3 separate regions of the Homo sapiens genome follow, and all the other regions are linked to region 1. The links are contacts of gene promoters, found by promoter capture Hi-C in blood cells and fetal thymus (Javierre and others, 2016). All regions are on one chromosome and are shown on one strand. The core of a region is centred on a gene start or on the middle of the fragment in contact, and the rest is flanking DNA. Distances in the headings are between cores, read along the strand shown.

The links. Contacts are between HindIII fragments. The CHiCAGO score rates a contact against its expected background, and 5 or more counts as called.
Region 2: a fragment that was not itself captured here is called in contact with the fragment with the promoter of ZDHHC2 in region 1 in 2 of 17 cell types (naive CD8 T cells and total CD8 T cells); the score reaches 10.2 in naive CD8 T cells.
Region 3: a contact is called between a fragment that was not itself captured here and the fragment with the promoter of ZDHHC2 in region 1, in 5 of 17 cell types (naive CD8 T cells, total B cells, naive B cells and 2 more). The highest score is 9.9, in naive CD8 T cells.

The regions. Positions count from the first base shown.
Region 1 is chr8:17,154,804-17,157,731 of GRCh38, forward strand. It overlaps ZDHHC2 (zDHHC palmitoyltransferase 2), which reads left to right and starts at 1,679. Exons shown (of 13, transcript NM_016353.5): 1 at 1,679-2,050. The coding sequence starts at 1,921. RefSeq lists a silencer at 1,138-2,497. The HindIII fragment of the contact is 4,757 bases long and covers 1-2,928 here.
Region 2 is chr8:12,864,052-12,866,979 of GRCh38, forward strand. It overlaps LOC105379289 (a long non-coding RNA gene), which reads left to right and starts at 1,415. Exons shown (of 3, transcript XR_949509.3): 1 at 1,415-1,945. The HindIII fragment of the contact is 599 bases long and covers 1,085-1,683 here.
Region 3 is chr8:13,723,569-13,726,496 of GRCh38, forward strand. No RefSeq gene overlaps it. Among named protein-coding and RNA genes, the nearest start is that of C8orf48, 160 kb to the left of the region's middle. The HindIII fragment of the contact is 224 bases long and covers 1,405-1,628 here.

The DNA.
Region 1 (2,928 bases), core at 429-2,928:
AGGAGGAAGAGCACAGGGCATCGTCGCATCCAGGATCTACAGAGGCACTATTTGCACTTTCTCCACCGTTTCCAGTATGGAAAATCCGATTCCTTCCTTTTCATACCTTGATGGTCTCTATTGACCTTCAGTCACTGATTTGCTTCTCTTTGTGAGGGTATTTCAGTCCCAGGAGGAAGTTTTAATTCCTGTTTTTTACTCTCTTCTGATTGGGGGGGAACACAGGATTAATATTCATGGAAAACATTAAGGAATCCAGAGAAGTTTTATTTTTACATTAATATACAGAATATCCACAGAGAATATAAAAGGCTACAGCAAAATCAAGTGATTCACTGGGACATAATATGTCTCTCTTTTCAATTATTTAAAGTCCCACAGAAACTTGACTGACATTTTCTATGCATTTTTGAAGAGAAATGGAAAGAGATGTGGGGTGGGGGGCTGTAACATAGTAGCTATTTCGGGAGAGATTAGCTTGTTGTGTAATCCAGTCACAGAAAGATAATCGCAGACACCAGAGCTAAATTTCTTTGACTGAATTCATGTAAATCAGTATTTTTTTTTTACTTCTACACATGAATAAGAAGTAATTTCATTCACTGTGGTTGCTGTGTGGTGTAAATACACATATTCACTAATGTTAAGAAAAATTGTGCCTATTATGTATAGTAGTGATGCACATAATTTACACACACTCATTGATTGAAATGTTTCCCTGTGGATCAGGTGCGTTCATAATCAGATGAAGGAAAAGCAAAGGAGGCATTTGTTTATTTTCCATTTCGTGAATCATAAAATCAGAGGTTTGGGCTGACTACCTTTAGGTTCCCTTACGGTGTTTTTTGGGAACCGCTTTGGAGTCAGCTATCTGCTAAGTTTGGAATTGCCACCACGAAAGTAAACACCGTAGTGAGGAGCGGGTTGAGGAAAAGAATAAATAGTTGGTGGAAGGAACCACCGTACTTGAGGGAGGGGACAGTGGGAACGGCCCCTGTCACAATCATTTATCCAAAGCATCAACATTCTCAGAGCAAAGAACTTGTGTTTCTAACTCCAGAGGTGCCTGGATTCACAGCCAAAAATGCTTCTTCCTCGCTCTCCACAGCCCCTCCCATGCCAGACGCCGGCTCGGCACCCCCTCTTCGCTGTGCATTTCTGCTTCCCCCGAAAGCCCGAGTAGTAAAGGGAGGCTCCTTGCGGCCCCCGCGGGCTCCCAGGGACCCGCAAGTTGAAGCGCGAGGGTTCCACGCGGGCTGCGGGGACGCGGGCCTCGGTGCTGCAGACTTTCTCAGGGCGCCTGGGTCGCGGCAGGCGCGGAGTCCCGAGCGCAGCAGCTGCTCCGCCGGCCTCGCCTCCGACCCCCGCCCTGCGCCAAGCGCGGAAGCGCTCGCGACCTAACTGCCCCGGGTGCCGGGCGCCTAGGGAGGGGCCGCCACCGCCCGCTCCGCCCCGGGGGCCTGCGCCCAGCAGCCCCCGCCTCCCCGGAATCCAGAGGCCGAGCCGGAGGCGGCGGGGCCACGGTGGGAGCCCGCGAGGTGGCCCGAGCGAGGGCCCCGCATCCCCGCAGAGCCCGCCCGAGGGCGCAGCCTGCCACGCCAGGGGAGGCGGCCGGGCGGCGGGGAACGGCGGGGGCGGAGCGCAGCCTCCCGACGCCGCCGCCTCACCGCCCCCCTCCGCCTCCTCGGCCTCCGCTCGCAGCCGCCGCCTCCGCCTCCGCCGGGCTGAGGAGCCGGGAGTCCGCCGCGCCGGCTCGGGGCTGCGGGATGGGGAGTTAGCGCCACGGCGGCGGCAGTGGCCGCAGCGCACCCCGCCGCCGCCCAGGAGCCCGTCCAGCCAGGGGTGCCGGGCCCGCCCAGCCCGCCCCGGAGCCAGGCCCGCGGGCGGCGGCGGAGCTGGGCAGGTGGATGCGGCTGGAAGATGGCGCCCTCGGGCCCGGGCAGCAGCGCCAGGCGGCGGTGCCGGCGGGTGCTGTACTGGATCCCGGTGGTGTTCATCACCCTCCTGCTCGGCTGGTCCTACTACGCCTACGCCATCCAGCTGTGCATAGGTGAGTGCGCCCCCCGCCGCGGCGCCCCCAGCGCAGCGCAGCCCACCCCGACTGTCCCGGGACGCTCAGCCGCTCCTCCGCTCTCGCCCCCCGGATGCGCCCCGGGCGCTGCCAACCTGCCGCGTCCCGCCGGCTCCGCCGCTAAAAGCAGCCTCGGGGCAGCTTCTTCCACGCGCACGCCCCTCGCCCTCCCCTCCCAACTCTCGGGTTAAGGTGGCGCCTCCGCCCCGCACTCGCCGCCGAGCCTCCCGCCGCCTTCCGCTCACCGCCGCCGCCTCGGCCACACCCCCTAGAGGGGCGGAAGGTCCCCGGGACCGCTGTGGAGAGGGGAGGCCGAGGCCGGCGAGGCGCGCCGGGGGCTGAAGGGCTGAGCTGGGCCCGGCCCCGAGCTGCGCCAGACCCGCGCGGGGGTGCTGGCCTTGGCGGCGGAGCTGGATCCCTTGCTGGTTGGCGTCAATGCACTTGTTAAAAATTTGTGACAGCGCTCAGGGGCGTTTTTGCTGCCTTTATGATTTGAGGATTGCCAGTTGGACACTTTTCTAGTTTAAAAGGATGTGGAGGAGGTGAGCTACTAGAAAGTATTTTTGAGGACATGTGCAACACACTAAACCATAATTTAGGTGTTTGAACAGTAGGGAGAGAAAAAAAGAGGTGATCGTCTGAGGTTTTTACATCCAGAGAGCGAAGTGGCTCCAGTCCGAGTTCGAGGTTCCTGAATTGGTGGGTAGGATACTTTTAATGCTGAAGATTAAAATTTTTTAAAAAGTTGATTATTATGCACAAGTAGGGAGTACAATGATGTCGCTTAATGTAAGCTGGTTTCTACCTTCAGGGGTTTTATGAAAACTGATCTGGGTTATCAGAAAAAGATGTTAAAA
Region 2 (2,928 bases), core at 134-2,633, 4.3 Mb before region 1:
GATCTCGGCTCACTGCAACCTCCGCCTCCCAGGTTCAAGTGATTCTCCTGTCTCAGCCTCCTGAGTAGCTGGGATTACAGGCACCTGCCACCATGCCTGACTAATTTTTTTTGTATTTAGGAGAGACGGGGTTTCACCATGTTAGTCCGGCTGGTCTCAAACTCCCGACCTCAGGTGATCCACCCGCCTCATCCTCCCAAAGTGCTGGGATTACAGGCATGCACCACCACGCCCTGCCAGAAGAACCCATCTTTTAACCCATTTTTGAGGTGGCCCCAGTGCTGCAAATATATTAATAGCTTAATACATTTTTTGGAGAGCCAAACAAATATGACTTGATGAGAAGTTTGCCATCTCTATCTCTTCATTAAGCCAGAGTAGCCACCCATAAAGTATATTTTGACAGAGGTTCTGGAATAAAGCCATGCCAGGGACAAGGGGTGAGAGGAAGCATCTGGCGGAAAGTCTCGCAAGTCCAAAATCTGTACAGCAAACCATCAGGCTGGAAATTCAGCAAGAGTTGAAGTTGAAGACCTGAATCCAAAATCTGCAGGCTGGACACCCAGGCAGTGTTTCTATATTGAAATCTTGAGGCAGAGTTTCTTCCTCTTTGGGATGCTTCAGTCTTTTCTCCTAAGACCTGATTGAATGAGGCCTACCCATATTATGAAGGGTAGTCTATTTTACTGAAAGTCTACTGATTTAAATGTTAAGTTTATTCTAAAAATACCTTCACAGCTACATCCAGTTTAGTGTTTGACCAAACATCTGGGTACCATAACCTAGTCAATTTGACATATTACATTGACCACAATAGAAGCTTCTACAATAGGAGATTTTACCCTAAGTTTACACTAAAAATGTAAAGAAGCTGAGCACAGTGGCTCACATCTGTTATCCCAGCACTTTGAGAGGCCTAAGTGGAGGTTACTTGAGTCCAGGAGTTCAAGGCCAACCTGGGCAACATAATCAGACCCCATCTCTAAAAAAAAAGAAAAAGAAAAACTAGTTAAGACTTTACATCAAGGACTCAACAGTAAAGACTAAGAACTTTATACTAATGTAAGACTTTATACTAAAAAAAAGCTTGTTTGTTTGTAATGGGGTTTTTAGATGTTACTTTTGTTCTCAATTACTGAAACTTTCAGGCATAAATTTGGGTTTTATAAATATTAGCAATTACCATGGGAGGGTCTTAACAAAATCATTTTTAAATGAATCCTTTACAAATCATTTAAAAACTTTTCTGCGAGGATTCTTGATGCTTCTATTCTTCTTCTTCAAATCAAAAAAACATCTACTGTCACAGACTTCGAACCATGCAGTATTTGCTTTGTGGATTGTTAGATCATAGAGAGTGTTTTCTAGTTTGATCAGAGGGTAGGGGGATTGGATATGCCTGGGGAAACTGAAGTTGAAAATGTGAGCCAGGTTGGGAGTTGAGTAGCAGGGCAAGAGTTTGGACTGGTTTGAAATGGGACGTTTAACTGATAGAACTGGAGATTGTTTGGCCTATAGGATTGGAGGGATAAACTTATTTGACAGCTATCGGCTTGTGGAGGACAGAATTTGAAAATCCTTCCACTAAAAGCACCTAGAAATACTGGCTAAAATATAATATATTTTTATTATCTAATGTAGACACAGTTCAGAAATGAACCTGGAACTAAAACCACAGTGAGAAGCTTTGAGCAGTGATGCTCTGGCTTCCAGAGGACAGGTTGTTAGTCTCAGCAATCTAGGAATCTGCTGATCTTCAGTTACCTGGGGCATCTCTGTTAATACGAAAAAGAAGAGGGGAGATGAATGAAGCCTTGAGTCTTTCTCAAATGGGAAGTTGGAACCAAGGGGCCTACATAAAGTCAGCACTTTCAAAGTACTGCTCCCTATTAAGAGCAAAGACTAGAAACAAATCCACTCCAACAGAAAGACAACAAAGAGACAGGTAAGTCTTGTTCCTTCTGCCATTAGGTCAGAACCAGAGTTCCCAAAGCAATGTGTTCTCTATTATTTGACAATGAATTTCCTTCTCTTGCTTCCTATGCAGAAAACCAAAATCGAGACACAATATTTATCTGATATTAGTGCTCCACATTCCTCCAATATGTATCTCTCATTATGACCAGAATGACTTCCTCATAGCCAGTTAAGCAGACTGCTCTTCCTAGATATAAACTCTCTGGGATTAGAGGACAAGAGTTTGCTCAGTGTGCTAGCCCCCATTTCAGCATCTTTGTGCCTGAACATCTTGTCCTCTGGTGGCTTTGGATAGTCAGCTCACCACTTATTAGAAATATACATTCTGCTGAGGTGATTTATATACATTATCCTTTCTAATTTTTCAATAACCTTGAAAGGTAGGTATTATCAGCTCATTTTAAAGACATTAACACTTAGATTCAAAAAACACATTGCTAAAAGCTAGAAAGCAGTGGAGCTGGATTTAAATGTGGATCTATCAAACTTTTAAGCACATGGTTTTTCTACTATGAGCTATTAGCGCTTACATATTCTTTGCAGAATATAAAATCCAGCTCAAACCTTCTCATCTTCAATCAGAGGTATGCTGGAGCCAGCTTGTGGCAGCAAATGAGCATCTTTCCCAACTCCACTTTCAGTGACTTCACGTTGGTAACTTGTAATGAGCCACTGTAGAATTATTTACACCAGAAAAGTTGGCAAATGCTACAAATCAGGCTTTTCAGAGAGCCCGGTTGTTAAACACTTACCAGCACACCACTTGCTGCCTTTAAACTATACTGATCTCTCGTCTCTCTTAGTTCTTGGTTTGCGCATATTAGAATTAATTATATGATATTCTAAATTTTATATCAATAGATCTTAGTCATTCAGATAATATAGCATAGCAGTTAGCAAATACTTTAATCTCTTAGGTCCAAGACTCTATAAAATAGAATTGGGTTTTAA
Region 3 (2,928 bases), core at 267-2,766, 3.4 Mb before region 1:
AGCGTGGGCTCACTTTCAGTGAGGGTGGAGCCACTGTGGAAAGCAGGAAAAACACTTTTTCCAAGTGCATATGCGCCAGCCCCCAATGGTAAGAACTGCTGTTGCGTCTGTAACGGTGGGACGGGGAAGGATGGGATGAGATGACACCCTGTCTGTGATTGTACGTGGCCGTCAGTGCCGCCCCCTTCAGTGATTGGTGCCACGCCCCCGTTTCCTTTGTCCCAAGGAGGGGTTTGGCACACTGTGTTCCATCTCCCTTAGGGCAAAAAGCCTTTTTAATTTTCAGAGTTTCTTTCACATGGAGTGAGAGATACACAAACAATGTGTACATAGTATATATATTTAAGTATGCAGTTTTAGAGCTTTGGGACCTGACATGGTGCAAGCTGCTTAAGATCATTGACCACTTCTGGTATACTGCCCACAATTCAGGTGCTGAATTTTTATAGAGAAAAATAAACCTGGGGTTCATGGACCCAGGGGGGTTTCATGTTTAAATAAGATACATTATTGATAAAACATTCTTTGTAAATTTTATGTTACATTTTTGGTGCTTGAAACAGATTAAACTGTGTCCATTACTGAATGTTAAAATTACTTTATGGTTTAATCTGACAAGGAGGTCAGATGAGGTAGGTTCAAATCCTTTTTGTTGCTTCACATAATTGTTACATAATCAAGGACAAATCACTTGATCCCTGTGAGCCTCTTCTGCAAAACAGGGGTTTTCATGATCGATTGAGCTTTATTGAAAGTACTTAACCCAGTATTGGTGTAGGATGCAGGTAACACAAAGTAAGTAAGAGTTGATTTGCTGGCTTGTTTTACTTGTTTGTATACTTAAGAGCAAAATATTAGAAATTTTGATGCTGATATCATGATCACAGTAAGCAGAAACATTGAAAAGAGAACTCAACATACTACACTAATGCTTAAACATACTAACACACACCCAGAGAAGCTGGAAAGTTCTAGCCTGCACACCTGCATGCTAAGGGGTTGCCTGTGGGTTAACGTATTGATTTACTATGTGATAGGACTCTGTTAAACTGACAGCCTCTTGTCTGTCAGCAGTGTGCTTGAAGTCTCTGGTGCCACTGGAGAACTGTATCCACCCCAGAAGAAAAGCCACTCTATTAGGAGACACATTTGTTACAAACGCCTTCAGATTAGAGCCAAACACAAATTTATAAATGCAACAAACAATCACATATCTTAAAGATTTGCTTGCGTGTTTGGATGATATAAAAATTAATTGATTAAACAAAGGCAAAATGTTTTTAATCATACCTGACCAGCATCTATCTGACTTCAAAAGCATTTGTACGTTATTCTTGCCTTTTGGAATTTTGGACTCTAAAAGAAAGTCAGTGTGCCTATAATGTTAATTTTTGAAATTTAGAAAGCTTGGACTGTCAAACGTGGTTCAGAATATTTTATATCACAATTGTAGGGTAGCAATAATTTGCACATTCCAACTTTATTATTAAGTATGAAATAAAACTTATAGCATAATGCTTTATCCAGTTTTAGACTGCTATGTGAAGGTGGGATGGCTATCTTTCAATTTCCATTTTTAAAAAATTCAGCCAATTTATAGCTGTTCAAGTATAACACTTCTCACAAGAAGCTTTCCTTGGTGAGTGGCTAAATACATAGAAGTGTGAATGACTAATAATGCATATCAAAAAGTATCAAACAAAAAATGTTCCTTCAGTCTTTAATTATTGCTAGATAAAGATACATATTTAGCATTAAACTAAGTATACAATACAGTGTCAGCTTTTTAAAAGCTTTTTTGTTTGAATTTCTGTCCAAGTTTCCCTCTGGGAATGCTAAAGACCCTTGGCCCGTGTTTTGTACCAGATTTCCTTTTTTCTTTTCTTCTTTTTCTTTTCTTTTCTGTTTTCTTTTTATCTTTTTCTTTCCTTTTCTTTTTGAACTTCTGACCTTGTTCTTCCAATAATTATTGGAACTGTGCTGTCAACTGCATTTCCTGGTAAATCTCAGAAAATACACTGATTAACAAATTAAGGACATAAAAACCCAAGGCTTAGCAATGTGACTCCAAAATAAGCCTTAAGGCAGCTTTGAGGGACAAGAGGTAATGCGAGTTAATTTAACAACTGGACCTTTCAACTAGAGCCCCTACCTGTGGTTTCTTCAGTGGATTGAGTTTCTTCACAGCATATCAATATCAGAGTGGTTCCACTATGGTGGCTCATGGGTCCAAGCCTGAGTGCTCCAGTGGGCAGAGCAAAAGCAGTGCTATTTTTAATGATCTAGCTTCTGAAGGCACGCAGTGTCACTTTTGTTCCTTTATGTCTGTTCATTACTACTGAGCCACCAAGGCCAGTTCAGATTCAAAGATCAGAAGGATATGGCAACACCACCTGTTAGTGGGATGAGATGACAAAAAAATAATGGATACATTTTAAAACTGCCACAGGCAAAATGTATATCAGGAAATGGTCATAACACATGGTTAACTTGCATTATCAATATTGGGATTTGAGTAAGAAGATAAACATGGCATTGCAGCATAGATATCCAGGTTGGAATACACGGAGGTAACCTTGCAATTAATTCGTCATTGATCAGATTCTTACAGATGGGAATGCTGCAAGTCAGAAAATAGTTCAAAGAAGAAGATAAGACACCCTGAATATGGATAAATGATTGGATCTATCTGTGAACACAGTTCTGAGGGTTGTTGAGTTTTAAACATGAAACAGAGTTTCACAGACCTTTGAGTAAAATAAGAAAGGTGGAAGAATTGACTCCTTATTCAACCAACGTGGGGTAGACCAGCTGCCTTCCAAAGAAACCTGCCCTAGAACAGTCATGTTTGAGTTACAACGAGCAATTTAGTGACCACCGTGAAATTTCGTTAATGTGAGTCAGTTATGTGGGTTGTGTCAATTTTTG